Linked DNA regions of Homo sapiens: regions 2, 3, 4 and 5 are each linked to region 1. The links are contacts of gene promoters, found by promoter capture Hi-C in human tissues and cell types (Jung and others, 2019). All regions are on one chromosome and are shown on one strand. Each heading gives the region's core, a stretch centred on a gene start or on the middle of the fragment in contact. The rest is flanking DNA. Distances are from core to core; before and after follow the strand shown. Region 1 holds the start of BECN1 (beclin 1). Region 2 overlaps ATP6V0A1 (ATPase H+ transporting V0 subunit a1). Region 3 overlaps BRCA1 (BRCA1 DNA repair associated). Region 4 overlaps NBR2 (neighbor of BRCA1 lncRNA 2). Region 5 overlaps STAT3 (signal transducer and activator of transcription 3).

Evidence for each region. The method cuts DNA at HindIII sites, captures the fragments that hold promoters and counts their contacts. A contact is called where the count stands out against the background at its distance.
Region 2: a fragment that was not itself captured here is called in contact with the fragment with the promoter of BECN1 in region 1 in 1 of the 25 tissues and cell types used here (pancreas).
Region 3: a fragment that was not itself captured here is called in contact with the fragment with the promoter of BECN1 in region 1 in 4 of the 25 tissues and cell types used here (bladder, dorsolateral prefrontal cortex, liver and 1 more).
Region 4: a fragment that was not itself captured here is called in contact with the fragment with the promoter of BECN1 in region 1 in 1 of the 25 tissues and cell types used here (bladder).
Region 5: a contact is called between a fragment that was not itself captured here and the fragment with the promoter of BECN1 in region 1, in 1 of the 25 tissues and cell types used here (hippocampus).

The regions. Positions count from the first base shown.
Region 1 is chr17:42,821,385-42,827,155 of GRCh38, forward strand. BECN1 (beclin 1) reads right to left here and starts at 2,898. Exons shown (of 12, transcript NM_001313998.2): 1 at 2,771-2,898; 2 at 2,364-2,495. The coding sequence starts at 2,493. It overlaps MIR6781 (microRNA 6781), which reads right to left and starts at 2,559; the gene lies at 2,496-2,559. RefSeq lists enhancers at 2,125-2,691, 2,692-3,260, 3,127-3,256, 3,261-3,827. The HindIII fragment of the contact is 8,869 bases long and covers 1-5,771 here.
Region 2 is chr17:42,515,888-42,521,714 of GRCh38, forward strand. ATP6V0A1 (ATPase H+ transporting V0 subunit a1) reads left to right here. Exons shown (of 22, transcript NM_001130021.3): 22 at 5,140-5,827. The coding sequence ends at 5,233. Among named protein-coding and RNA genes, the nearest start is that of MIR5010, 4.6 kb to the left of the region's middle. RefSeq lists an enhancer at 720-1,219 and a silencer at 1,663-1,712. The HindIII fragment of the contact is 4,137 bases long and covers 2,372-5,827 here.
Region 3 is chr17:43,111,662-43,117,630 of GRCh38, forward strand. BRCA1 (BRCA1 DNA repair associated) reads right to left here. Exons shown (of 23, transcript NM_007294.4): 3 at 4,065-4,118. Among named protein-coding and RNA genes, the nearest start is that of BRCA1, 11 kb to the right of the region's middle. The HindIII fragment of the contact is 5,789 bases long and covers 1,081-5,969 here.
Region 4 is chr17:43,137,734-43,143,508 of GRCh38, forward strand. It overlaps NBR2 (neighbor of BRCA1 lncRNA 2), which reads left to right. Exons shown (of 8, transcript NR_138145.1): 5 at 423-627; 6 at 924-1,189; 7 at 4,724-4,843. It also overlaps a transcript of BRCA1 not described here. Among named protein-coding and RNA genes, the nearest start is that of NBR2, 15 kb to the left of the region's middle. The HindIII fragment of the contact is 9,487 bases long and covers 1-5,775 here.
Region 5 is chr17:42,315,105-42,321,253 of GRCh38, forward strand. It overlaps STAT3 (signal transducer and activator of transcription 3), which reads right to left. Exons shown (of 24, transcript NM_139276.3): 22 at 2,078-2,120; 23 at 1,685-1,797; 24 at 1-696. The coding sequence ends at 641. Among named protein-coding and RNA genes, the nearest start is that of STAT5A, 30 kb to the left of the region's middle. The HindIII fragment of the contact is 8,739 bases long and covers 1-6,069 here.

The DNA.
Region 1 (5,771 bases), core at 1,648-4,147:
TCAAAAATACAGAAATATTTACAGTATTTATGTTTGGGATTTGCTTCAAAACAATTCAGAGTGGGAAGGAATGGATGGGGCTGTAGACAAAACTTGATTAAATATGTGTTGATAATTGTTGCAACTAGGTGATGGGTACACAGGAGTTCATGATATACTCTGAAATTTTCCATCACAAAAGCAAACATCCTGTTTCCCCCAGAATAGCAAGGAGGGAACATAAGGAAACTTTCTAGGAAGATGAAACATTGCTAAATTGCAACGATCCAGATTACATCAGTGTATCCATTTGTCAAAAATGTACAGCTAAGATTCATACATTTCAAGTCATGACAATTTACCTTTCTAAAAAGGTGTGAAAAACATAATAATTGAGCAGAGGATGGGAGGTGAATGGAGGTGTAGACAACATAAGAATGTGAGAATATGGCTGATTATTGAAGCTGGATGATGAATACAAGGCAGGCTATGCTATTCTCTTGACTATATATGTCTCAAATTTTCCATAATAAAAAGTCAAAAATTGTTATTAAAAGAGTTTAAGAGGCGCGGTGGCTCACGCCTGTAGTCCCAGCACTTTGGGAGGCTGAGGCGGGCAGATCACAAGGTCAAGAGATCGAGACCATCCTGGCCAACATAGTGAAACCGTCTCTACTAAAAATACAAAAATTAGCTGGGCGTGGCGGTGTGTGCCTGCAGTCCCAGCTACTCAGGAGGCTGACGCAGGACAATCACTTGAACCCGGGAGGCAGAGGTTGCAGTGAGCCGAGATCGCGCCACTGCACTCCAGCCTGGCAACAGAGTGAGACTCCGTCTCAAACAAACAAACAAAAAAAAGAGCTAATTTCCCCTCAAGAAAGAGAAACCAGGTAATAATAGCAGCTAATACTTATTGAATACTATTTGCCCAGCAAATTCCTAAGTGTTTCTGTGGTTTGTCATATTTGAACTTTATAAATTCTTTATGAGGCAGTTTAACGTTTTACAGAAAAAATCAGAAACCAAGGCTTGGAGAAATGAAGTAACTTGCAAAAAGTTGTTCAGCTAGTAAATGACAGCCAGGATTTAAACCCAAGCAGGCTGACTCCAGGCCCATAAGCTTATTTAAGCTGCCTATTCAGTCTTCTCTTTTACTGTCTGACTTAATCTGAATTCTTCTGACTTTGCGGGATTTTGGGGTTTTTTATTTTTTTTAATTATAGAGACAGGGTCTTACTGTGTTGCCCAGGCTGGTCTCAAACTCCTGCTCAAGTGATCCACCTGCCTCAGCCTCCCATAGTGCTGGGATCACAGGTGTGAACCACCACTCCTGGCCTTTTTAATTAATTTATTTTTTGAGACAGGGTCTTGCACTGTTGCCCAAGCTGCAGTGCAGTGGCATGATCATAGCTTCCTGCAGCTTTGACCTCCTGGGCTCAAGTGATCCTCCTGCCTCAGCCTCCACCACCCACCACACCCAGCAATTTTTTTTTTTTTTTAGAGACAAGATCTCTGCTAGGTTGCTCAGGTTGGTCTTGAACTCCTGGGCTCAAGCGATCCTCCCACCTCAGCCTCCCAAAGCACTGAGATTACAGGCGTGAGCCATCACATCCAGCAAATTCTTCAGACTTTAAGACTCTACTCCATTTACCAGCTGTTGGACCTTAGGTAAGTCACTTAACCTCTCTGTGCCTCGGTTCTTCATCTGAAAAATGATGTAATGACGGTATACCCCGTACGGGTTGTTACAGGGACTAAATGAAGTAATACGTGTAATGCACTTGGTATTACTATATAGTAAGTCCTCAAAAAATACCATTTATTATTATATATACATATTCCTTTTCTCTGAAACAGCAGGAGCAGAAAATAAGGATCTTTCTTTTGCTACTGAAAGCTCTCTTTTTTTGAGACGGAGCCTCGCTCTGTTGCCCAGGCTGGAGTGCAGTGGTGCGATCTCAGCTCACTGCAAACTCCACCTCACCGGTTCAAGCGATTCTCCTGCCTCAACCTCCCGAGTAGCTGGGACTACAGGCACGTGCCATCACGCCCGGCTAATTTTTGTATTTTTAGTAGAGAGGGGTTTCGCCATGTTGGCCAGGCTGGTCTCGAACTCCTGACCTCAGGTGATCTGCCCGCCTCGGTCTCCCAAAATGCTGGGATTACAGGCGTGAGCCACCGCGCCCGGTCGGAAAGCTCTCAGAAGTCCACAATGTCAGAATGCTTTATGTTTCCAAGGAGAAAACAGGGAGCCAGATGAAGTGACTTTCCTAGGTTCACACGATGAGTTTGTGGCAGACTACACAGCCACCATAAGAATTATATCACCAAAGCTGCCCACCTTCCACATTCTTGACCACCCTCTTTCCAAGGGTCTCGCTGACCTGTGAGTTCCTGGATGGTGACACGGTCCAGGATCTTGAAACTCGTGTCCAGTTTCAGGGGCTGGCTGCAGCGCTGGCACACGAAGCTCACCTGCATGGTGCTGTTGTTGGACGTCTTAGACCCTTCCATCCCTGAGGCCGTGGAAAAGAGGCAACATTAGGGAGAAGCGACGCCCTTGACCTCCGGCCCGGGGTTACCACATGCCTTGGTGACGATGGTAAAGGGAGGGAAGTCCCAACCTGCGCCGTTCCCTCTAGGAATGGTATGATACGGGGAGGACCTGCTTCCGGGACAGCCTGAGCAAAGGCAGTTTAGAGCCCAGGGTCAGGGAAGGGACTCCAATAAGAGCCGTGAGGGTTCCCAGACTCCCTTCTAAGGTCCCACCTCAGCCCCCGATGCTCTTCACCTCGGGAGCCCGGAGCCCGTCACCCAAGTCCGGTCTACCGCGGAGGCACTGTGGCCTCGGGTCGGCCCCGGAGCGAGGCCTCCAGAACTACCATCGCTCTGTCTTCAGCGACTTCCCGGTAGCCGCCGGAAAACTTCCGCCCGAGACCGGACGTGACGCTACGACGGCAGCAGGAGCTCCTGGTCCACAGGCTCACAGGCCCGGCAGCGGCCCCCAGAGGCCGGGCTGGGAAAAGCAGCGGGCTTCAGCGGATGAACAAGGTTACCACGGGAAGTGTAGGAGCCAAGGCCGCAGAGAATGGGGAGGCTCCGCTATTCTCTAAATTCAGGGGGCGGCGGGCGCGGTGGCTCACGCCTGTAATCTCAGCACTTGGGGAGGCCGAGGAGGGCGGATCACGTGAGGTCAGGAGTTCGAGACCAGCCTGGCCAACACAGTGAAACCCCGTCTCTACTAAAAATACAAAAACTAGCCGGGCGTGGTGGGGCACGCCTATAATCCCAGCTTAATCCCAGCTACTCGGGAGGCTGAGGCAGGAGAATCGCTTGAACCTGGGAGGTGGAGGTTGCAGTGAGCCGAGATCGGGCCACTGCACTCCAGCCTGGGCGACAGGGCAAGGCTCCATCTCAGAACAACAACAGCAACAACAAAAGGCCGGGCATGGTGGCTCACGCTTGTAATTCCAGCACTTTGGGAGGCCGAGGCGGGCGGATCACAAGGTCAGGAGTTCGAGACCAGCCTGGCCAAAATGGTTAAATCCCGTCTCTACTAAAAAATACAATTAGCTGGGCATGGTGGCGTGCGCCTGTAATCCCAGCTACTCAGGAGGCTGGGGTAGGAAAATCGCTTGACCCCCGGAGGCGGAGGTTGCAGTGAGTCGAGATCATGCCACTGCACTCCAGCCTGGGCGACAGAAGGAAACTCCATCTCAAACCCCCCCCCCCCACACACACACACAAAACCAACAAAAAAAGAAAGTGATATTCAAATAAAAGCTTGAAGAAGGTGAGGAAGGAATTCTTACCTGCATCTTAAGGAAGAGCATTCTAGGCCAAGGGAACAGCAAGAGCACAGAGGGTACCTGTTTGGGGATTAGCAGAGGCTGGTGTGGCTAGAAGATGGGCAACGAAAAGAGATACAGAAAATGGGGTGAGGGAGGTAAGAGTGTTGAGCTACCACCTAGGCTCTTATAGGGATTGTAAAGCTCTGGCTTTCACTTTGAATGAGATGAGATGACTGGGTCTTGAGCAGAGGGACTTACTTCATTTTTAAAAACAACTTTATGGGGTATAATTTACATACCATAAGACTCACACTTTTTAAATGTACAGTTCAATAATTTTTAGTAAATTTACACAGTTGCCCAACTATCACCATAATCCAGTTTTAGAACATTTCCCATCTCCCCTTGCAATCCCCCACTGTGGCCTCCCAAAGTGCTGAGATTACAGGTGTGAGCCAATGTGCCTGGCCAAAAGTTTTTCATTTCAATAAAGTCCAATGTTTATGCTTTTGGTGTAAAAGAAACCACTGCTTAACCCAAAATTGTATGTAGTATTGTCTATTTTATTTTTATTTTGAGACAGTGTCTTACTCTGTTACCCAGGCTGGAGTGAAGCGGAACAAACAAACATGGCTCACTGCAGATTTGACTTCCTGGCTCAAGCAATCCTCTTGCTTCAACCTCCAGTGTAGCAGGGACCACAGGTGATCACTACCATGCCCAGCTAATTTTTAAAATTTTTTGTAGAGATGTGGTCTCACACTGCACTCCAGCCTCGGTGACAGAGCGAGACGCCATCTCAAAAAAAAAAAGAGATGGGGTCTCACTTTGTTGCCCAGGCTTCTGCTTTTTAAATTTAACATTTTTCTATGTTGCTACACAGTTATTGTAGTTATCATGGCTACATTACACTACACTAAATGTACTGCCTTAGTGTATTTTTTTACCGCTGGAAATTCTACTATTTCCCCTGTGGGTGATTACAATAATCCTGCAATGAAGAGCTGGCTACTTATGATAGAGACTCATAACTGGGACTACAGAATTAAGAGTGTGTCAGCTATTTAATGTCTCTTCCTTAACACTGGGAATCATTTTCCAAAGTGCTTGCACATAACTATATTCTGCTTCCAGTAATGTATGAGGAAGCCTGTTTTCATATTGCCTTGGCCAGTATTGGGTATCATATATTTGGGGAACAAAAGCAAAAAATGGCACTTCCTTGTTATTTTAATTAGCATCATTGATTGCTGGTAAGGCTGAACTTTTTGCTATGTATTTGCTTATTGTAGTTACTTTTTTTTTTTTTTTTGAGATGGAGTCTTGCTCTGTTGCCCAGGCTGGAGTGCAGTGGTGCCATCTCGGCTCACTGCAACCTCTGCCTCCTGGGTTCACGCCATTCTCCTGTCTCAGCCTCCCGAGTAGCTGGGACTACAGGCGCCCACCACTACACCCGGCTAATTTTTTATATTTTTAGTGGAGACGGTTTCACCATGTTAGCCAGGATGGTCTCAATCTCCTGACCTCCTGATCTGCCCGCCTTGGCCTCCCAAAGTGCTGGGATTACAGGTGTGAGCCACCATGCCCGGCCTTTTTTTAAAAAAAAAAAAAAAAAGAGACACGGTCTCACTCTGTCACCCAGGCTGGAGTGCAGTGGTGCAATATCAGCTCACTGGAATCTCCGCCTCCCGGGCTCAAGCAGTAGTTACTTTTTTCTGAATTATGTTTGCATTCTTTGATTATTTAGGTATTGGATTATTAGTATTTTTCTCAGTATTTTTAGTAATTTTTCATGAATGCTTTAATTATTTTCCAGATGTTCAGGAAGTTTTAAATTTTCAAGTCAAATCTGCTTATTTTTCTTGATGACTTATACTGCTTAGAAAGTTATTCCCACCTCCAGAAGTGTCTTTCTTTTCTTTTAAATGTATGTGGTTTCTTATAGTTGGTATTGGATGTGATATGTGGAACTAGATTGATTTTTCTCCCGGTTTTGTGACT
Region 2 (5,827 bases), core at 3,190-5,689, 300 kb before region 1:
TGGGGCAGTCTGTATTTTCTGTGGCTGTTCCACCTCAGACTCCACTTCTTTGGGTCTCTATTTTCTCCTTTATGTTGTGATTCTCTTTTTGGGGGTCTCAAAACCCCAATGTCTCTGGAAGTTCTGGCCCCTCTCCCCAGAGGAGCACTCACACACTTCTCCTGTTTTACAAGCATAGGGGTCTGACTCACTGGTGTGCCTTAGAGGCCCCTGGATGGGATGCTCTGTGGTGTTCATGATCTCAAGGCCAGAAGAGGACTATGAATGTCTCTCTTCGTTCTCAAAACCTGAAGAAAATCCAGCATCTGAACCTGAGAAACTCATTCCCCACTCCCCTTTATCTTTGATTATTCTCATGGCTGGGTGACCCCTGAGCCTCCTCAAAGATTCAGCTGTGGGTTTTTCTGAATGATGGGCGGAGAGTGAGGCATGGAAGGGCAAGACGTGGCTAGGGTGCACTCTTCTTCAAAAGCCCTGCTGCGTCAGTAGACCTGGCTTCCTCTGGCCTGGCTCTCTCCCTCCTGGCCTCCCTCCTCCCCACCCAGCTCATCTGGCTGGCCTCCCTGTTCTAAGCTTATCAGCCGACCCCCGCAAGCACACTTCCTCAGCCCTCCTCAGTGCACGAGAACCTCTGAGGACTCACTTTTTCTTGCCCCTTGGCCTCCTTTCTTTTCTTTTCACTCCTGTCTCTTGAGCCCTGGGTTTGAGGGAACAGTGACCACCTCACCTTGATTCCAGCCCACGTGGGTAGCCGGTCATCTCCCTGGGCAGGGCGGGAGCAAGGCACTGTTGCAGAGCAAGGCCGCCTGGGCTTGAGCCTCATTTTGTTGCCAGAAGATTGCTTCCTCCTCAGGCTCACCTGTGGCCTCCCCGTGTCTTCCCAGGTCCCCCTGAACTGAAGTGATGAGTGGCAGGACAGCAGGCTCCGGAATTGGGCGACCTGGGTTGGAATTCCAGCACTGTCACACCAGGCAGGGAACCTGAGCAGAACATTCACTGCCAAGATTACTGTGAGCAAGTAGGAAGTAATGCACACACCAAGTGCTGCCACAGCAAAAGCAGGTGCTCTAGGATGGGTAGTGGCTGCTCTGCTTAAAAGTGGGATGCCCTTACTGGGTGCGATGGCTCACACCTATAATCCCAGCATTCTGGGAGGCTGAGGCAGGCAGATCACCTGAGGTCAGGAGTTCGAGACCAGCCTGGACAACATGGTGAAACCCCATCTCTACTAAAAATGCAAACATTAGCTGGGCGTGATGGTGGGCGCCTGTAATCCCAGCTACTCGGGAGGCTGAGGCAAGAGAATCGCTTGAACCCAGGAGATGGAGGTTGCAGTGAGCCAAGATCGCGCCACTGCACTGCAACCTGGGCGACAGACCGAGACTCCGTCTCAAAACAACAACAACAACAACAACAACAAAAAAACCTGGGATGCCCTAGAGAGAGGGTGTCTGCCTGGGGTCCCCCATAAAAAGACTGCTTTTAGCCTGTCTAGAGTGAGAGAAGACCCCAGAGGAGGCAGAGGATACCATCAGAATGCCCTCAGGTGCTGTTTGCAAGGAACAGCCTCCCCATATATGTCGTATTTATTTTGGCAATAGGAGTATTGGGTAGGAGAGGAAAAAACAGTGCAAACCTCCTTTGTGCAACTTCCAGAATCTCGTCTTTGGAGGGCTGTTCCCGTGACACGAGTGGGGCGCCTCCCCCACCACTAAAACAGAAGTGAATGAAATTGGTGCTTGTGCGCCCCCTCCTGGCAAAATGCGGCTGTGCGTCCAGGATGCCTGGATCTTCCCTGTGGCCCAGGACTGCAGGAGGCGTTCTGAGCTGTGGCCCTCTTACCAGGGGTGGAGCCTCTGGGGCTGCTGAACCAGCTGTAGGGATGGTGCTGCTGTTCTTCCTGGCATCCATCCTAGGCATCTTCATACCTCCCACTTTATCCCTGCTGTTTCCTGATTCAAGGGCTGCCCCATTATACAAGTTCTGGTCTCCTCAGTGGGGACAATAAGAAAAACATTTGATTCGATAACATATAAACCACTAGTGTGAGATTCATGCAGCATCATAGGAAGGGGGGTGATGTGTTTGAAAACAGTGAGCAGGCTAATGTATTAATCTGCTAATTCTGTCTCCTGAGTTTTCTCTCTTTTCCTCCCTCCTGCCACATGAAGTGTGCTTGGCTTCTTACCTACCATAATTAGACATCTTTTCTTCCTCAGAGAAGGCATGAGACAGGGATTTGATTGTAGTTATCACTGTAAACATCAAACTGATTTTTATGCAGAACTATTGCCCCAGGGCATACCTTCCAAGGAACCTGGTCTCTCCTTACCTAGCGAATTCCACATACACATAGATGTACACCTACCTGTACACTCACAGATTGGGTGGTGATTAAAGGGACAGAATCGGGGACCAGCTTCTTGTTAGGAATGCAGTGTTGCCACGGCATGACAGCATGGAGCAGTTGAGGGAATGGCTGCCCAGGAGAACTCAGAACTCTTGAAATGTAGTTCCAGGCTGCCATCATTGCCCTGATATTCAGGCCGTCAGACAGATGTGTGTTGTAGGCCCTGAACGGCACAGAGAGTGGCAGAACAGGCTACATAAACAGCTCAGCCCAGAATTGTCTTTCCAGACTGCCTGCCCTCAGTCACAACCCCCACCAGGGAAGGGAAGCGGCCCCAAGACTCCTTCCTCCTTCACCCACTCGAGGAAACAGAGTTCCTGTTACGTGGCATGAATGATGTCTTTTGGCCCCAGTTAATCCCTCTGAGTCACCAGGTGGCCTTTGCCAAGTGCTGGAGCTGGAAGAGATGATAGAGACACTCATCTGGCGTCCTGAGGCTCTCCTCACAGCTGTTGAATTCTAGAGGTGCATTTCAGTGTCTTGGGGCATGGCAAGACTTTGGAGGCTCCCTGAGCAGAGCAGTGGAGATGCCCAAAAAGAAGGAAGAACCTAGGATGGCAGATGGGGCCCCCCTTGCCCTGGGGAACTTCATGTTTGTACTTTCTCAGGAAGCACACATTTCCCCAGTTCAGCGGGAGAGAGTGGGGAGACTAGCAGGGAAATTGCTTTCCAGCTTTGTGCTGGGTGGTTGGGGTGAGGGTGGCCACGGAAGGAGGTGAAATCAGGCTGACCTCAAGATAGACCCAAGATGTCCCAGTTCTGGCCGCTCTAAGTCTCTAAAGCAGCAGCTGGTGGGAGGGGCAGTATTGGGCAGTATGTCAGGGAGGCCACCTGTCTGCTCACACAGTACAATTGATGTGCCCCTCCCAGGCATATATCCCTCTTCCTCCTTGCTGGGCCCCCATGGGTAGATAAGGTGACTGGAGGGGTGCCAAGAAAAGGGCGGTGCCCCCACAGGCATCTGAAAACAAAGCTGCTGCTCCATTTGCCCAGTTTGAAGATTAGAATGGTTTTGTGATTAGCCAGGAGGGGGTGGGGGTCAGAGTTCTGGACACCTCACTGGAGTCGGGGGTCAGCATACCCTACCAAGGCTGACATTCACTCCTAGGTAATGGCCTGGGACCCTCAGGTGACTTGTCCACTCTCTGGCTATGTATTGTTGAATGAAAAGGGGACATGTAAATCTCGTTTCAGCTGTTCTGAAATAACCCTTGCCACATGGGAACACAGTCTATTCAACATGAAGAATTCAAACCTAACACAAGTGGGTGAGAAGCAGGAACCCACTGCTAGGCCCCACCGCGTTCCCTCAGAGGTGGTCTCAGTAGCTGGAACTTGGAGAAGTAGTTTTGGTGGGGTGTTGGGACGTGGGTGAATCCAGGTCCTGGTTTGGAATTGCTCTGGTGGGAACCGTCAGCTAACGTCAGTTGGAAGCTCTGTGTCCTCCCCCTCCTGAGTCCTGTTTTTCCTGGAGGACCTTGGCCCACCCCTGTGGAATGTGGGGATGTGGGGAAGAAAGCTGACTGCTTTTACTCCCACTCAGAAAATTCGGTTGCGCTCTTCTTCAAGGGGGTGCTCCTCAGCCTGCACCCCAGTGAAGGGGCCTCTGAGGAACTCCCAGTGCCACTGGCAAACAGTCTGTAACCTTTGGGCCCCAGCCACCTCCCAGCCCCTGTTCTCTTAATTCCTGCCTTCTTGGCTTGGAGGGAGGAATCTCCATTTGTAAAAGCTGAGTTAGGGAACTAGAGGGTTCCTGAAGCTTTAAAGCGCCTCAAAGCCCTCACCCTGCACGTGACCTGTCACCTGGAGCCTGCCCCAGCCCCCACGCCTGCCTGTTCTTATAGGGGCTCCGGTGCCTCCAGGGTCACACAGCACCATGTGGAAACTATTCCTCAGGGCAGCTCTCCTTGGCCTTTTTATCCCCTGAATCATGCATTTTTCTGCCCTTATTTGGTGTGGTTTGGTTGCTGGGCAGCTGTCCAGGGTGAGTTTGCAGGAGGAAGCACAGCCAAGCAGCCTCGCTCTGCTTATGGGACAGTCTTCCTCCCACCCTCCCTGAGAGTGAAAGGGCCCCACAGAGACCATCAGGCATGGATGCTGAACTGCTGGGAAGGGAGCTCAGGCTTTTTCTTTTTAGTCCCCAAGAGAAGAATTCTTTCTCAGATGTTTTTGTGGTTGGAGAATATTTTTGCCATTGCTTTGAGAAGACTTCCCCTCCTAACTCCCCCTCTTTCCTTGGAATTTCCTTCCTTAAATGGAAAGCCTTCAACATTCACTCCAAGCTCGCCCTTTTGCTCCCCCAAGGAAAAATAACAAGCAAACAGAGGTGCTTGCCCAGTGTCTCTGGAGGGGCTTCCCTTAGAGGTGGGCTGTGTGATCCCCTGCCAGGAGGGGGCGATGGGGGCCACTTGTTCATTAACGATGTTAGGCTCAAGGTAACTGAACTTTTTTTGCACATGCCTCTCTGCAGAGAGTTGTGCATAAACACACTGCTCGGCAGGACAGAGCAAGATTGGGAACTGAGGGCAAATCCCTTCCTCCGTGCGTCGAACTCTTGATCCCAGGCCTTAAAAGTGGGATCTCTGCACTCTGGGCTTTCTCTAGCTTCCCCAGGGAAGGGAGGCTCGGGGTGAGGTGGGCACGGGGCATCTTTCCTGCCCAACTGTGAAGTCCTAAAAAGCTTCACAAAGTTTCTATTGAATGACAGCTTTCTTCTTCTCTTTCTCCAGGGTTGAGTTCCAGAATAAATTCTACAGCGGGACCGGTTTCAAGTTCTTACCCTTCTCCTTCGAGCATATTCGGGAAGGGAAGTTTGAAGAGTGAGTCCCTGTGAGGGCCGTGTGCCCCATGCTACCCTCCCCGCCTCCCTCCACAGTGATCAGCTGTGCCTCTCTGCCTGTTGGTTGTGATCTGTGGGCACCAGCTCATTCGTGTCACCCTGTCTGTGAGTCATTTAGATAGAATAGTCCTCCTTGGGTCTCCCACCACCCCTAGCTTTGTGTGTAGTGTAGTGATTTTCTGGCTGTCACTCATACTCACTGGGCACCAGCCTTGCCCTCTTAGCCTCCATCCATCCAGACAGCCCTTCCCACCTCCTGGTGGTGAGCCAGTCTGCATTCCCACGCCATCCCAAAGCCCTTTCATCTTCCCCGTGCATTGTAGATGGAAGGAGCACCCATGCCATTCACATCTAGACTTTGAGTTCCCTGCATCTGCCACCGTAGTTTCTAGCAGGAGTAGTGGGGGGAGTAATACAGATTCTTCCCTAGAAGGGGACACTGGTAACATGTCCCACTCTTGGATTAGCAGGGGTGGGTCCAGGAAGATGATATTTGCGTCTTTTGCCCACCCCCCTGGCATTCAGCTGGACCCAACTAGGCCATCATGAGTGGCTTCTCCCTGTCATCCCCAGGGGTC
Region 3 (5,969 bases), core at 2,725-5,224, 290 kb after region 1:
ATACAAAAAAATTAGCTGGGCGTGGTGGCAGGCGTCTGTAGTCCCAGCTACTTGGGAGGCTGAGGCAGGAGAATGGTGTGAACCCGGGAGGTGGAGCTTGCAGTGAGCCGAGACTGCACCACCGCACTCCAGCCTGGGCGACAGAGCGAGACTCCGTCTCAAAACAAAACAAACAAAAACAAACAAACAAACAAACAAAAATAAAAAAAAGATTTCAGAACTTTAGGCTTGCTTGGGTCAATAAAGTTGTTTTATTTTTAGCAATTAGAGTTTATCCGTAGAAAATACAATTAATACAACAAAAGCATGGGGGTATCGCTCCCAGGCTCCCAGCTTTCTCATCATATAGATCAAAGTGTTATTCAGATTATATTGATATTACAGAAGAGATTTCATGAAAAAGTCGATCTATCACATGGGCATTATACTGGACTTTTTTTTTTTTTGAGACGGAATCTTGCTCTGTCGCCCAGGCTAGAGTACAGTGGCACGATCTCAACTCACTGCAGCCTCTGCCTCCTGGGTTCAAGAGGTTCCTCTGCCTCAGCCTCCTGAGTAGCTGGGACTACAGGCATGTGCCCCCATACCCAGCTAATTTTTGTATTTTTAGTAGAGATGGTGTTACCATATTGGCCAGGCTGGTCTCGAACTCCTGACCTCGTGATCCGCCCACCTCAGCCTCCCAAAGTGCTGGGATTACAGGCGTGAGCCACCACACCCGGCTTTGGACTTTTAATTCTAATATAACATTCAAAACACAATTTAAAATATGGCTGGCCCATCTCTACAAGAAACTTAAAAATTAGCTGGGCAAATGCCATGTACCTGTAGTCCTAGCTACTTGAGGGGCTGAGATGAGAGATTGCTTGAACCCAGATTGCAAGGTAAAAGTGAACTATGATCACACCACTGAACTCCAGCCTGGGTGTCAGAGGGAGACACTGTCTCAAAGAAACAAACAAAAATATATATGTGTCACACACACACATATATATAACATATTTATATGTATACACACACATATATCTTTATGACTGGTTCTTTCCTGACTATCACAATCCTGACTATCACAAGCTTGAAACCAAGCTTCTCACTCTTCTCCAGTTGCCAACTCTAATCCTCTCAATCTCAACAGCTGTTTTTTGTTGTTTTTTTTTTTTGAGACAGTTTTCACTCTTGTCGCCCAGGCTGGAGTGCAATGGCGCAATCTCGGCTCACTGCAACCTCCGCCTCCCAGGTTCAAGTGATTCTCCTGCCTCAGCCTCCCAAGTAACTGGGATTACAGGCATGCGCCTCCACGCCCGTCTAATTTTGTATTTTTAGTAGAGATGGGGTTTCTCTATGTTGGTCAGGCTGGTCTTGAGCTCCTGACCTCAGGTGATCCACCTGCCTTGGGCTCCAAAAGTGCTAGGATTAGAGGCGTGAGCCACCGTGCCCGGCCTCAACAGCTGTCTTTACCTCCAACTTCACTGGGCTCAAAGCACCTCAGCATCTTCCTGTAGAATTACTCTCCTTTTCCTTCATTACTGTTTATGAGTAATAATCAACTCTTTCTTACATCCTTTTTCTATTTCCAATCCCTTCTGCCTCCTCTTGGACCTTCTCTTTCTTGCAAATGGCTTCCCATCTTTGAGGGCTTCTTCCTTTTCTAACACAACTCCTATACACATATGCAAAGTTAGCTTATTTTTCCTGGATGTATTTTCTTTTCTTTTCTTTTTTTTCAGACAGAGTCTCACTCTGTTGTCAGGCTGGAGTGCATTGGCATGATCTCGGCTCAGGGCAACCTCTGCCTCCCAGGTTCAAGTGATACCCCTGCCGCAGCCTACCAAGTAGCTGGGACTACAGGTACGTGCCACCATGCCAGGCTAGTTTTTTGTGTGTTTTAGTAGAGACAGTGTTTCGCCATTTTGGCCAGGATGGTCTTAATTTCCTGACCTCGTGATCCGCCCACCTCGACCTCCCAAAGTGCTGGTATTATAGGCGTGAGCCACCGCGCCCGTCCTCTATTTTCTTTTATTTGTACATTTGCTCGTATTATTATCTCTGCCTATAAGCCTATAATTTCCTTCTTCCACAAGTTCTCAAAGCAACTATATTCATAACTTAATCTCTCTTTTTTTGTTAAGAGACAGGGTCAGCCAGGCGCGGTGGCTTACACCTGTAATCCCAACACTTTTTAAGGCCAAGGTAGCTGAAGTCAGGAGTTTGAGAGCAGCCTGGCCAACATGGTGAAAACCCTGTCTCGACTAAAAATACAAAAATTAGCTGGGTGTGGTGGCAGATGCCTGTAATCCCAGCTACTCAAGAGGCTGAGGCAGGAGAATCGCTTGAACCCAGGAGGTGGAGGTTGCAGTGAGCCGAGATCACACCACTGCACTCCAGCCTGGGCAATAGAGTGAAACACCATCTCAAAAAAAAAAAAAGACAGGGTCTCACTCTGTCATCTAGGCTGGAGTGCAGTGGTGTGATCATAGCTCACTACAGCTTCGAACTCCTGGCCTTAAGTGATCTTCCTGCCTTGGCCTCCCAAAGTGCTGGGGTTATGGGCAGGAGCTACCACACTGGGCCCTTGAGTCCCTGTAATAATAGTATAGTATGTTCAGCATTTGTTACTCAAGCTGACAAGAAAACATACAGTTCATTCCAGAAAGATTCTCATCCAGATAAATTGAAAGCCCCAGGGCTTTAAAGGTTAATCTTTAGCTCTCTGTAGTAAATACTGGGACTTTTTTTTTTTTTTTTGAGTCTCCCTCTTGTCGCCCAGGCTGGAATGCAGTGGCATGATCTTAGCTCACTCAGATGAAAATTATGGACTATCTTCCCAGAAAAATGTACATGGCCATAGTTTTGAATACAATTTAAATATAATTCTAGGAAATTCATAAAGACTATTCATAAACCCCAAGTTAAGAACTCTGGAATTTAAAAATTCCTCAAAGGATACATAAGAAATTGATCATTGTGGTTGTCTGGGGAGGGAACAGGGAGGCAGGGGTTGTAGGGTAAGAGGGAAGTATACTTTGCATCATATACCTTTTTGTGCTAATAAACTTTTTACCAAGTACATAGTTTGTACCTGGTACCAGGTTATGTACCAGGTACATAAATACTTAAAAACAAATTAGTTGACATTTAAGGTAAGATGTGAGCCATAGCTTAACATAAAGAAAAGGAGAAAGCCCACTTGTTCTACTAAATTACCTACTCTACTTTTTCTGAAATTCTTTTATTAAGAAACAAACATTTTCATTTCAAAAGACAAGATCATCAAATACGTAAATATAACTTGAATCACTGCTATAAATGAATTTTGGCCTAAATAGAAACTGGTATCAGGTCCTTTCCTGTCTTCACAATGATTACAAAGCGGGCAAACACTGACCCTTAGAAGGGGGAATGCATAAGGATATGCAGAAATGAACAGAAAGGAGAAACTGGGAAGGCTCAAACACAATGTGCTTATTTCAAAACTGCTTGCAGTTTGCTTTCACTGATGGACACAAAAAATACAAAACACTGTTCAAAATGATGTTACATCCTAATAGATAATATATGTCAGTCGGGTGTGGTGGCTCACGCCTGTAATCCCAGAACTTTGGGAGGCCGAGGCAGGTGGATCACAAGGTCAGGAGTTCGAGACCAGCCTGGCCAATATGGTGAAACCTTATCTCTACTAAAAGTACAAAAATTAGCCAAGCATGGTGGCGGGTGCCTGTAGTCCCAGCTACCTGGGAGGCTGAGGTAGAAGAATCGCTTGAACTCGGGGGGCGGAGGTTGCAGTGAGCCAAGATCATGCCACTGCACTCCAGCCTGGGCGACAGAGCGAGACTTTGTCTCAAAAAAAAAAAAAAAGATAATATATGTCAAAACTTTACCAGGAACTATGATTACAACCAACTTTTGATAACTATATACTCTCTGAGAAAGAATGAAATGGAGTTGGATTTTTCGTTCTCACTTAATTGAAGAAAGTAAAGCTTCTATAAAGTTAGGTGTTTCCTGGGTTATGAAGGACAAAAACAAAAGCTAATAATGGAGCCACATAACACATTCAAACTTACTTGCAAAATATGTGGTCACACTTTGTGGAGACAGGTTCCTTGATCAACTCCAGACTAGCAGGGTAGGGGGGGAGAAAAAGAAAATAAATGAGGCTCAATAATTTATTTAAAAATAAAGCTATTCTTAGTGAATAAGTTCAACTTTGAGCTGTTATGACTGAGTCAACATAAGGCCTCAAGTTCGTTCAATATTTATTAAATGTCTGCTGTGTCAGGAACTGAGAATACAGCAGAGAATACGATCCTTACCTTCAGTGAGCTTTCAGATATCAAAACAGAATTATATTGATCCCTTCAATACTCTATACTATCATCAGCATTTAAAAGATTAGTTGATAATAGTTCGTACGAATTCATTTCCAGTGATATATTTTTCTGCACTATCACTGTGGGTGCACATCTCATCTTTAAGCTCCATAAAGACAAAATTTTCTGCTTATATTTCTTTTGAATTCCTTCCTAGAACTTTTTTTTGTTTACTGTAAATGCCTTTTTAACTTAATATGGAAAATTTCAAGTATTTCAAAATTTCAAGTAAATAAAATAATAAAATGAACTATATGGACCATCACCCTGGTCCAACAACCATCAACTCATGGCCAAGCTGTTTCACCCATATCCACCCCTACCCCAGATTATTTTAATTATTATTACTTTTAAGATAAGGTCACACTCTGTCACCTAGGCTGGAGTGCAGTGGTGCAAACATACCTCACTGCAGCCTTGAACTCCTGGGCTCAAGCAATCCTCCCAGCACGGGGTTTACAGGCATGAGCCAACACACCCAAACCCAAGTGTCTTCTTTTTTTTGAGATGGGGTTTTGCTTTTGTAGCCCAGACTGGCATGCAATGGTGCGATCTCGGCTCACTGCAACCTCTGCCTCCCAAGTTCAAGTGATTCTCCTGCCTCAGCCTCCCAGGTAGTTGGAACTACAGGCGTGCGCCACCACGCCCGGCTGATTTTTCGTATTTTTAGTAGAGTTGGGGTTTCACCATGTTGGCCGGCTGGTCTTGAACTCCTGACCTCAGGTGATCCGCCTGCCTTGGCCTCCCAAAGTGCTGGGATTACAGGTGTGAGCCACCATGCCCAGCCCCAAGTGTCTTCTGATCTATAGGTGTCTCTTACTTTTTCTCCCTTGTCATTTATTTTTAAAATTAGGTCATTTGACCTGTGGAGTTTCCCCCATTCTGGATTTTGCTGATTGTATAACCCTATGGTGAGGTTTAACTTGTTCCTCTAGCCTTATTTCCTATAAACTAGACTTACAGGCTTAATCATTCAGGTTCAACTTTCTGGCAAGAACACTTTACAGATGGTACTGTGTACTCTTATTAGATCACTTCAGAAGAGGCATGATGTTTGGTTTGTGATTACTTTGTAAAAACAGTGTAATAAGTACTCACTAAAGGAAATTTAGAAAATGATAAGCTTAAGGCCGGGCATGGTGCCTCATGCCTGTAATCCTAGCACTTTGGGAGGCTGAGGTGGGTGGATCACCTGAGCTCAGGAGTTCCAGATCATCCTGGACAATATGGTGAAACCCTGTCTACGCTAAAAATACAAAAATTAGCCGGGCGTGGTGGCGCATGCCTGTGGTCTCAGCTACTTTGGAGACTAAGGTAGAAGGATCACTTGAATCCTGGAGGTGGAGGTTGCAGAGTGAGCCAATATCGTGCCACTGCACTCCAGCCTAGGTGACAGAGGAAGACTCTGTCTCAAAAAAAAGAAAATAAGGCCAGACACGGGGGCTCATGCTTGTAATCCCAGCACTTGGGAGGCCGAGGCGGGCGGATCATGAGGTCAGGATTTCGAGACCAGCCTGGCCAACACAGTGAAACGCTGTCTCTACTAAAAATACCAAAACTAACTGGGCATGGTGGCATGCGCCTGTAATCCCAGCTACT
Region 4 (5,775 bases), core at 3,253-5,752, 320 kb after region 1:
GGGCATGGTGGTGAGCACCTGTATTCCCAGCTATTCAGGAGGCTGAGGCAGGAGAATCATTTGAACCTGGAAGGCAGAGGTTGCAGTGAACCAAGATCATGCTACTGCACTCCAGCCTGGGTGACAGAGTAAGACCATCTCCAAAACAAAACAAAACAAAAACCCAAAATAGGCCGGGCGCGGTGTCTCGCACCTGTAATCCCAGCCCTTTGGGAGGCTGGGGCGGGTGGATCACCTGAGGTCAGGAGTTTGAGACCAGTCTGACCAGCATGGTGAAACCCTGTCTCTACTAAAAATACAAAAATTAGCCGGGCATGGTGGTGCATGCCTGTAATTCCAGCTACTAGGGAGGCTGAGGCAGAATTGCCTGAACGCAGGAGGCAGAGGATGCAGTGAGCTGAGATTGTGCCATTGCATTCCAGACTGGGCAACAAGAGCGAAACTCCATCTCAAAAGGAAAAAAAAGCAAAAGAGAAAAAACCCAAACAAACAAAACCCCTGAACTTCCCTGCGGGCACATTTTCTCTGGCAGCCTTTTTCAATGAGAGCTATGTTTTCTCCGATACTATATGGCCTGCGGACCGCTCAGCTTTCATTCCAGTGAAAACATTCCAGAACAAACTCCAGGTCGGTCCCAGGTGTTTCTCCAATCAACTCAGGGCATGGTTGTGTGTCACCTGCTGCCCAGCTAGAATGACACCTCTCCAGGCCTCTGACTTAGCTAGGTCTCCACCATGTGACTCCACCGTAGACTCCATGCCTTCTTCTTTTGCAAAGCCTCGGACACCCAAACACCTACCAAAAGTGGGTAGGGTGCCAGGACACCTCCAAGTATAAGTAGGGCTCCCCACCATGCCTGGATGTGGAGTTGTGCTGCAGAGTGGTGGCTGCTCATGACATTCATTTCACCCCTTTCTGTGCAGGTGCTGGAAGCCCAGGAAGCACACATCAAGGCTCCCTTGCCAGCAGGGTGCTGCCAATAAAAGGTAGTCACGTGGAATTTGGAATGTGGAAAGGAGGTAGAAGTCATCCTTTCCTCCCCTGTAGCAGCAGGCGTGCAGGCTCTGGTGGTCAGCTGGACTCCATACTCCCCCACCAGTCACCAGCCTGGGGACCGTGGGGCTGCAAGGACCTCAGCAGCGGTGTCCCAAGTTTCCTGACTTCTTCCATCCTCTGGAAATCAGCTGTGGTAAAGTAGCCTGAAAGCCAGTGGTACAACCCCCTCCCCACAACCTTCACCACCTCTAGCCCCTCCAATGAAAAGCACTAATTGCCTATATACAACCCCTTTTTGTTTGAAATATCTAGAGTAATTTCTGTTTTCCTATCTGGGGTAGTGTAACGTAAGAAGAAATATACATTTGGTCTCTGCCCCCGGTTCCTAACACAAAGCTCCTAAAACCCTTGGAAATTCCTGAAAGATGGGGGTGCTAGGAGCATTGTCTTTTTTTTTTTTTAAATTTATCATTTTTCTTTTCTCCCAGGTGTTTTTTCCTTTTTTTTTTTTTTAACTTTTATTTTAGATTAGGGGATACATGTGAACGTTTGTTATATAGCTAAACTTGTGTCACATGGGTTTGTTGTACAGATTATTTCGTCACCCAGGCACTAGGCCTAATACCCGATAGTTTTTTTCTTTTTTTTTTTTGAGATAGAGTCTCGCTCTGTTGCCCAGGCTAGAGGCACGATCTCGGCTCACTGCAACTTCCGCCTCCCAGGTTTACGCCATTCTTCTGCCTCAGCCTCCTGAGTAGCTGGGACTGCAGGTGCCTGCCACCACGTCCAGCTAATTTTTTATGTTTAGTAGAGATGGGGTTTCACCATCTTGGCCAGGCTGGTCTCGAACTCCTGACCTTGCGATCCACCCACCTCGGCCTCCCAAAGTGCTGGGATTACAGGCGTGAGCCACCGTGCCTGGCCAGTACCCAGTAGTTTTTTTGGCTCCTCTCCCTCCTCCCACCCTTCACCCTCAGGTAGGGCCCAGTGTCTGTTGTTCCCTTCTTTGTGTTTATGAGTTCTCATCATTTAGCTCCCACTTATAAGTGAGAACGTGTGGTGTTTGGTTTTCTGTTCCTTTCTTAGTTTGCTGAGGATAATGGCCTCAAGATCCATCTGTGTTCCTACAAAAGAGATGATCTTGTTCTTTTTTATGATTGCACATCTTTTGTTCTAACGTTTGGTCCTTCACCTTGGTTCCTGACACAAGGATTCCTAAATCCCTTGGAATTTTCTGCATGATAGGAGCGTCCTTTGTTCTCATGAGGTGACTCTTGGTGGGCTCCTTATTTGGGGACTGGTCACCAAAAATACCTAACTATGGTTGGAAGCTTAGTGCTTTCAGCCCCATTCCCCATCCTCTGGGGTGGGGAGCAGAGCTGGAGCTCGATCATGCCTGCGTGACAAAGCCTCCAGAAAAATCCTTGAAAGACAGGACATGGAGAGCTGCTGGGTTGGCGAACACATCCATGTGCCGGGAGGATGGTGCACCCCAACTCCACAAGGACCCTTCCAGACCTCACCCTGTGTATCTCTTCATCTGGCTGTTCATTTGTATCCTTTAAAATATCCTTTGTAATAAATCAGCAATAGTAAGTAAACTATTTTCCTGGGTTTTGTGAGCTGTTCTAGCAAATGGTCAAACCTGAGGAGGGAGTTGTGGGGACCTCCAATTTATAGCCAGTTGGTCAGATGCATAGGTGATGCTTGGCCTTGCACCTGGGGTCTGACGTGAGGGCGGTCCTGTGTGACTGAGCCCTTAACCTGTGGAGTCTGGTGCTCACTCTGCTTAGGGCTTCTCTGCCTTTGTAGTGTCCTGTCTAGAAGGCCTTTCCTTCCTCTTTTCTGCTCAGAAAACTTTTCTTCCACTTCCCTTCTTCTAAGCCATCCCTTATATCTACTCCTTTCCAGCCGACCAAGAGCAGAACCACGGCTGGCTCCACTGCCAGCATGCTGTCCCACACTGTCTCCTCAGGATGTATTCAGATGTCCGGCCCTCTCCCTAGTCTAGGAGCCCTTTGAGGAAAGGGATGCTGTCCTAGTCAACTCTTTCCCAGCGCCAGGCACAACGTCTGGCATGTTCCATCTTTTTCATGGACTCTCCCCAGGCGGCCTGACCTTCCCTCCTCTGAACTGCTGCATTTCCTGTCTGCATCATGTTTGCCCTAATCAGACATCGCCTTATTTCATCATCCTTTAAAAAATGCTTTATTTCTCTGGCAGATTTCATTGGAATCAGAATTTTCTTTCATTTAGTAGCTGTTGGCCTTGTGTCCACCTTTCTGTGGCACTCAGGTCTCACTTAAGAGCTGGCCCTCTGAGCTATGGTTTGCCGTCAGTGAGATGGAGACAGAGGCAGCCCTAGGCAGTCATGTTTTGTTCCACCTGACCCTGGGCACCCCTCCCCCTCCCAGGCTACTGGCAGGGATGGGCACCGGCCTGGGAGAGACAGCTCATCCACAGGCTGGCCCAGCAGAAACTCTGGGCTCAGACAAAACTGCTCAATTGAGGACAAACTGGGCAAAATAGAATCTTACTTTGGGAGTTTTTAGAAATATGGTTGGGGTAGCATTGGGGAATAATAAGAATTGTAGCCAGGCATGGTGGTGCATGCCTGTAGACCCCCAGCTACTCTGGAGGCTGAGGCAGGAGGATCTTTTGAGCCCTAGAGCTTGAGGCTGCAGTGAGCTATGAATGCACCACTGCACTCCAGGCTGGGTGACACATCAAGACCCTGTCTCAAAAGAAAAATGTGCACATTTGAGATACATAAAAAAATTTTTTGTTATATAAAAAAAAATTATCACCGGGCACGGTGGCTCACACCTGTAATCCAGCACTTTGGGAGGCTGAGGCGGGCGGATCACGAGGTCAGGAGATCGAGACCATCTTGGTTAACATGGTGAAACCCCATCTCTACTAAAAACAAAAAATTAGCCAGGTGTGGTGACGGGCACCTGTAGTCCCAGCTACTTGGGAGGCTGAGGCAGGAGAATGGCGTGAACCTGGGAGGCGGAGCTTGCAGTGAGCCGAGATCGCACCACTGCACTCCAACCTGGGCGACAGACCGAAAAAAAAAATTTAGCATAAAAATGTGAAATTATGTAAATATGCCAAAATAGGAACCTGGAGGTGCTTGGAATCCAGACTTTGGGAGCCCAGCAGTGCAAGGATCTCTACTCTTGGCTTCTTTTTTTCTTGAGATGGAGTCTTGCTCTGTTGCCCAGGCTGGTGTGCAGTGGCCCAGTCTCGGCTCACTGCAACCTCCGTCTCCTGGGTTCAAGCAATTCTCCCTGCTTCAGCCTCCTGAGTAACTGGGATTACAGGAGCACATGACCATCCCCAGCTAATTTTTGTATTTTTTAGTAGAGACGGGGTTTTGCCATGTTGGCCAGGCTGGTCTTGAACTCCTGACCTCAGGTGGTCCACCCACCTCAGCCTCCCAAAGTGCTGGAATTACAGGCGTGAGCCACTGTGCCCAGCCTAGTCTTGGCTTCTTGTCAACTCCCTGCTTATGTCCAACACTCACCCCTATTACAGAGCTGGTGTGGGGGAGTTTCTGTCCTGGTGACTTAACAGTGTAATTAAAGTGCTTAGCACTGTACCTGACCACAGCTGGTGCCCAACAAACAGCAGCTGCCATCATTCTCACCATCCGTATGTTATTGTTATTGACTCTTCAATGGCAACCATGGCTTATCCCCCTTTATCTCCCTATGTCCTACAGCCGGACAGAGGAATGGTTACAAGGCTTTGAGCCTAACAGTGCTGGCTTAAAACCGTAACTTGTCGTTTTGGATGTGTGGCCTTGGACACTTGGGCAGGTCACCTACGTCCTTCTAGCCCTGTATCCTTATCTGTCAGATGATGATTTTAAAAACTATGCTTCCATGGATTGCTGGGCTAAATCATATAAGACTGTAAAATGCCTAACCCAGGATTTGGCATCAAGTAAGCAAATTGTAAATGGTAGCTGCTGTTCTGCCTATGACTATTTAGTCTTGTGCTTTACTTTTTATTTAATTATTTTTAAGACAGAGTTTCAGTCTTATTGCCCAGGCAGGAGTGCAATGGCGTGATCTTGGCTCACCACAACCTCCACTTCCCAGGTTCAAGTGATTCTCCTACCTCAGCCTCCTGAGTAGCTGGGATTACAGGCATGTGCCACCATGCCCGGCTAATTTTTGTGTGTGTGTGTGTGTGTGTGTGTGTATATATATATGTGTGTGTGTGTGTGTATATATATGTGTGTATATATATATGTATATATGTATATATGTGTGCATATATATGTATATATGTGTGTATATATATGTATATATGTGTATATATATATGTATATATATGTGTGTGTGTATATTTATTTATTTATTTATTTATTTTATTTTTTTTGGTAGACACGGGTTTCTCCATGTTGGTTAGGCTGGTCTTGAACTCCCAACCTCAGGTGATCCGCCTGCCTTGGCCTCCCAAAATGTTGGGATTACAGGCATAAACCACCATGCCCGGCCTAGTCTTGTGCTTTAGACTCAAATATTTGTTGGCCCACTGAAGTCACCACACAGATAAAGACACTTTTCATTCTCAGTAAGGAACTTTGGGAGATAATTGGGGCAGGCAGCTAAAGAACAGGTGTCTTTTGTCTGACATCAGCAAACTCATGGAAACCGATGGGCGGCTCACTTTGCTTAGAACCCCCACAGCACGCACACAGGGCTGCTTCCCAGTCACACTGCTCCTGGGATGGGGGTGCTGCTGTTCTGCAGTTAGCACTGTTCT
Region 5 (6,149 bases), core at 450-2,949, 510 kb before region 1:
CTCGGCCTCCCAAAGTGCTGGGATTACAGGCGTGAGCCACCATGCCCGGCTGCTTAAGTTTCTTAAATACAGAAAGGCTATGCTGATACAGTGTTTTTTGCCCTTTAATTGTTATTATTTCTTAATTTAAAAAGAAACCTAGGGCTTAGATAGTCCTATCTTCTATTTGGATGTCAGCAAGGTTAAAAAGTGCAATGCCAGGAGTATGTAGCTATAGGTGGCCTGTGGCATTTGCTTACAGAAACAGGCAGAAGGATGCCGCAGGCACCAGGAGGCACTTGTCTAAGAACAACAACAACAATAACAAAAAGCTGCTGAGAAAGGAGGGCAGGGGAACAAAACAACACAAGACATTTCCTTTTTCTCCCTCTAGCCACCCCCCGCCACATCCCCTGATCATGGGTCTCAGAGAACACATCCTTATTTGCATTTAGATAAAAGCAGATCACCCACATTCACTCATTTCTCTATTTTTAAAAGTGCCCAGATTGCTCAAAGATAGCAGAAGTAGGAGATTAAAAAAAATCTGGAACCACAAAGTTAGTAGTTTCAGATGATCTGGGGTTTGGCTGTGTGAGGGGTGGCAGAATGCAGGTAGGCGCCTCAGTCGTATCTTTCTGCAGCTTCCGTTCTCAGCTCCTCACATGGGGGAGGTAGCGCACTCCGAGGTCAACTCCATGTCAAAGGTGAGGGACTCTGGAGGGACAGACAGGGAAAACTAGTTCAGTTGTCCACCCTCTGCAACTGGCAGGCCACGCCCCCAGCCCTTCAGAGGACAGGGCCCAGGCTACCACTGCTATCCAATCTCCTGCCCCTTAAGGCCCAGGGATGGTCAGAAAAGCCAGATTTACCCTCCTCCCTGGAGGACCCTGCCTCGGGAAGGGTCCTTTCTCATTCCCACCTTAACTGATTCCCAGAGCTCCATGTTTACAGAAGCTCTAAGGCTGTCCTGAGATCTTCTGCCCTTGATCTACTGTTTAATTCAGGAGCCCCGAGACACACGTGGCCACCAAGCATTTGAGATTTGGTTTGTCCAAACTGAGCTGTGCTGTGGCTGTCAAAAGCCCACTGGATTTTAAAGGCTTAGTATGAAAAAAAAGAATAAAAAAAGGTCTCAACTTTTTCTTTTTAGTTTAGTTTTGTTTATTTGAGATGGAGTCTCACTCTGTCGCCCAGGCTGGAGTGCAGTGGCACGATCTCTGCTCACTGCAACCTCCACCTCCCAGGCTCAAGCGATCCTCCCACCTCAGCTTCTTGAGTAGCTGGGATTACAGGTATGCGCCACCATGCCCAGCTAATTTTTATATTTTAGAGATTTTGGTCAGACTGGTCTCGAACTCCTGACCTCAAGTGATCCACCCACCTCGGCCTCCCAAAGTGCTGGGATTACAGGCATGAGCCACTCACCCAGCCTCAACTTTTTCTGAAATGTTAAATTGAGAGTATGTTGGATTTAGTGGGTTAAATAAAATATATTGTAAAAATTAAGTTCGTCTATTTCCAGTGTGGCTGCTAGAAGATTTATACTCACACATGTGGCATTCATACCATCTCTTTTGGAAAGCAAAGCTCTAGAATCTCCTACCATTCCGAGTGACCAGCTCTCGGTGTGTACATGTGAGAGCATCACACAAAGGGGACCAACTTCCCTTATAGGGACAAAGTCTGTCAACCAAATACTCACCAAACTGCCCTCCTGCTGAGGGTTCAGCACCTTCACCATTATTTCCAAACTGCATCAATGAATCTAAAGTGCGGGGGGACATCGGCAGGTCAATGGTATTGCTGCAGGTCGTTCTGTAGGAAATGGGGGGCAGCAGGAGGGGAAACGGGGGGTTGACAAGACACAATGGAAAAAAAAAAAAGAACAAAACACACACACACAAGCCATCAAACTCTGGTCTCCAACAGAAAAATAAAAGCTCAAGCTTTTTAAACACACAAGGTCACTTTGAGTACTAAACATAGCCCAGGGGCTTCCAACCTTTGGCAGATTAACTCTCACCCAGTGTCCCATTCCCAGGGATAACTGAGGATATTAGAAATGAAGGCAAAACGGGGAAAGGAAGCCACTTACGGTGTCACACAGATAAACTTGGTCTTCAGGTATGGGGCAGCGCCTGGGAAGAAGAAAACCAGTTTTCTTACTGACTGTGACTTCGCATTCAGTAAGCAGAGCTGGAGGAAGCCATCTGCCTCGGCAGGACTGATTTGAAACTCACTCATCCTCATGCCAAGATTGTCTGGAAAGCTCCATCTGCCCCTCAGGGTTGTCTGCCCTCATTTATACTATTTGATCTCCCAGGCACTAGCAGCTGTGAACTTCAGTTCTTTGCACAAAGCTGTCCTGAGCTGCAGAGACTTTTCAGCATAACCTTTTCCCACCTGACCCTAGACTAATGCCACCTTGTGTCCCTTCTTTCCCTAGATTATGTAAAAGTTTAACAGCCTCCACGTGGTCTGAGCATTCTATTCCGGCCTGGTCATATCTCTTAGATAACTTCTCTGCATGCAGGAACCGAGCCTGTGTAGTCTTTGCATGGTGTCCAGCCTAAATACCAATATCACCAAGTCTTTAAAGAACATGGAGACTGCTAATGCTTGTGGTTCCAAAGCCAAAGGTTATATCTCTTATTCCTACCAGCACTAATCTGGCCTCTACCACATTTTTGGATGAGGGCATGAGTAACTTTCTAGTTGGATAAATACGTCAATCAAAAAGCACCAAAGAGAATGTGACTTTGTAAGGCAGTACAATTGCTTCAACTAGAAGACCGGAGACCTGGGTCCAGGTACATCTTCAATAGCTAAGAGACCTGGAGCAAGGCATGGTCTCTCTCTTTTGTTGCTGTTGTTCTTATTGTTTTGAGACAGAGTCTCACTCTGTTGCCCAGGCTCAAGTGCAGTGGCACAATCTCGGTTACCGCAACCTCCTACTCCCAGGTCAAAACGATTCTCCTGCCTTAGGCTCCCAAGCAGCTGGGACTACAGGTGGCACCACCATGCCTGGCTAATTTTTGTCTTTTTTTTTTTTGAGACGGAGTCTTGCTCTCTTTCGCCCAGGTTGGAGTGCAGTAGCGCCATCTTGGCTCTCTACAACCTCTGCCTCCAGGGTTCAAGTGATTCTCCTTCATCAGCCTCCTGAGTAGCTGGATTACAGGCATCTGCCACCATGCCTAGCTAATTTTTTTTTTGTAATTTTAGTAGAGATGAGGTTTCACCATGTTGGCCAGGCTGGTCTTGAACTCCTGACCTCAGGTGATCCATCTGCCTCACCCTCCCAAAGTGCTGGATTACAAGTATGAGCTATCATGCCCAGCCTTGGCCACAATGCCCAGCCCATATTCTCTTTTATGTATAAAATAAGAGGGAGGGGGAAGACAAGGTGCCAATTTTCTATGAGCTTTGTCATTTATAATTCTTGTTCTACAGTTAGAAATGCGTTGACGGGAATAAAATGAATTTTAGATGCTGAATGCTTACACCAAGAGGTCAAGGAACCTTGGGGATACTGGCATGAAATCTGGGGAATTCAGGTGAACAAACCATTGAGAAGGCATGGGGCAGGGTGAGGTGGGCTGAGAACAGCACGGTCATAAAACATGAGGCTTAGACAGAACCTGAGGGATCAGAGAGCATGATGACCATGTGAAAGAAGGCACTGCAGAGTGGCTCTTGGGCTGCCATCTGAGTTTACTTTGGGCCAAGAAACTGATCAATTCAGTGCAGAATTCAAAGGAGCTACTGAGGCAAGACTCTAGTGTCTTATAAATCCAACTGTTTTGGCCCAGCCCTTAGGGAGCTGACACCCTAGACAGAAAAGGATTTAATTCTCCAGCATTCAAGATAGCTGAGGCCAGGCACAGTGGCTCATGCCTGTAATCCCTGCACTTTGGGAGGCTGAAGCAGGTGGATCACTTGAGGCCAGGAGTTCAAGACCAGCCTCACCAACATGGGGAAACCCTGTCTTTAATGAAATTACAAAAATAGCTGGGCGTGGTGGCACGCCTGTAATCCCAGCTACTCAGGAGGCTGAGACAGGAGAATCACTTGAACCTGGGAGGCAGAGGCTGAAGTGAGGTGAGATCGCACCACTGCACTCCAGCCTGGGTGACAGAGTGACAGACTGTCAAAACAAAACAAAAACAAAAACAAGGCTGGGCACTGTGGCTCACACCTATAATCCCAGCACTTTGGGAGGCCCAGGCGGGAAGATCACTTGAGGTCAGGGGTTCGAGACCAGCCTGGCCAACAGGGTGAAACCCGGTCTCTACTAAAAATCCAAAAATTAGCCAGGCATAGTGGTGCATGTCTGTAATCCCAGCTACTCAGGAGGCTGAGGTATGAGAATCTCTTGAACCTGGGAGGCAGAGGTTTCAGTGAAGCAAGATCGCGCCACTGCACTCCAGTCTGGACGATAGAGCGAGACTCAGGCTCAAAAAAAAAAAAAAAAAAAAAAAAAAAGCTGAGAAAAATGACTTCATTGTGTGGCTTTGTACAAGATTGTAAATGTACTTTATCTAATTTGTAAGTGGCTCCGAACCTCTCCCTCAAGCCATAAGGAAATGCTATGTGGGCTTCCAGTAGAGAAGGAAGAGAGAAGAGTCTTGGGAGGATAATCTAACCTGAGACCCTCATACCATAATACTCTTGTGATGGAAATAGAGAGGAAATGGTCACATGCTCATCGTCCTGAAGGCACCCATTTTAAAATAACACAGGGACACCCCCACACCCGTCACCACACTCACATGGAGTCCCTCAGGGCACACTCCTCTCAGCAAGGCAAGGCAAATTACTCAAGTAATTAGTTCCTTTCTCCTGATGAGTGCCTGGCCCCTGAGGAAACGCTGACATCGCTGGGCAGGAAAGGACCTGGCCTCCCAGCCCACAGGAAGGGCGATGGTAATGGAGGATGCAGCCTCAGACTGGGAGGTGGGACCTTGAAAGCAAAATGAGTCAAAAGGACCAGCCGTGGGACCCCAACGTCCTCTGCAGAAGGAACAAAGAGCCGTGTGGCAGGGGCTGATAAACAGATCTCCCAACTGAAGCACACATGCAAAGGGAGATAGGTGGCAGACAGGAAGTGAGTAACTCTTACAGCAGGAACAAGACTCAGGACCCCAACAAAGGAGAAAGGCAACGGTCAATTAGCTCCAACTCCCTCTTCCAAGCCCCATTCTGCCCCATCTCAAGAAATCCCTCAGAAGGAATTCCTAGGAAAAAGTGGGAGGGAAGTTGGTAGGTTTCTGTGTGTGTGCTATTTGGACAAAAATAGTTTTTTCAACAGCAACTAGGGCAAGGCGCCAACCCTAAAGGATCACATTAAAGAGCCCATCATTAGGCCAGGCACAGTGGCTCACGCCTGTAATCCCAGCACTTTGGGAGGCTGAAGTGGGCAGATCACCTGAGGTCAGGAGTTCGAGGCCAGCCTGGCCAACATGGCGAAACCCTTTCTCTACAAAAAATACAAAAATCAGCTGGGCATGGTGGCACAAGCCCATAATCCCAGCTACTCGGGAGGCTGAGGCAGGAGAATTGCTTGAACCGGGAGGTGGAGGTTGCAGTGAGCCGAGATGGTGCCACTGCACTCCAGCTTGGGTGATAGAGCAAGACTTAGTCTAAAAAAAAAAAAAAAAAAAAAGCCCATCATTGGCTTTATGATTACAGAAAGTTAAATCAAACAAAGAATGGCAAACCAGAGACTCCCCATCAAGACCTGCACAAAGAACCCAGAGAGTCAAAACAGCAAGTGCTGAAGGGGAACAGACAGGGCTACCCCCTCCACACTGAGGACAGCTGCAGAGATTACAGTTTTGTTTCGTTTTTTTCTTTCTCTTCTTTGTGTGTGTGTGTGTGTGTGTGTGTAGTGGGGTCTTGCTATGTTGCCAGGCTGGTCTTGAGTTCCTGGCCTCAAGTGATCCTCCTGCTTCAGCCTCCCAAAGTGCTAGGACTGCAGGTGTGAACCCCCATGCCCAGCTGAGATTACAGTATTTTTAATTTCTCTCTCTTTTTTTTTTTTTTTTTTTTGGTGAGTCAAGGTCTTGCTCTGTCACCCAGGCTGGAGTGCAGTGGTGCGATCATGGCTCACTGCAGCCTCAACCTCCTGGGCTTAAGCAATCCTCCCACCTCAGCCTCCCGAGTAGCTA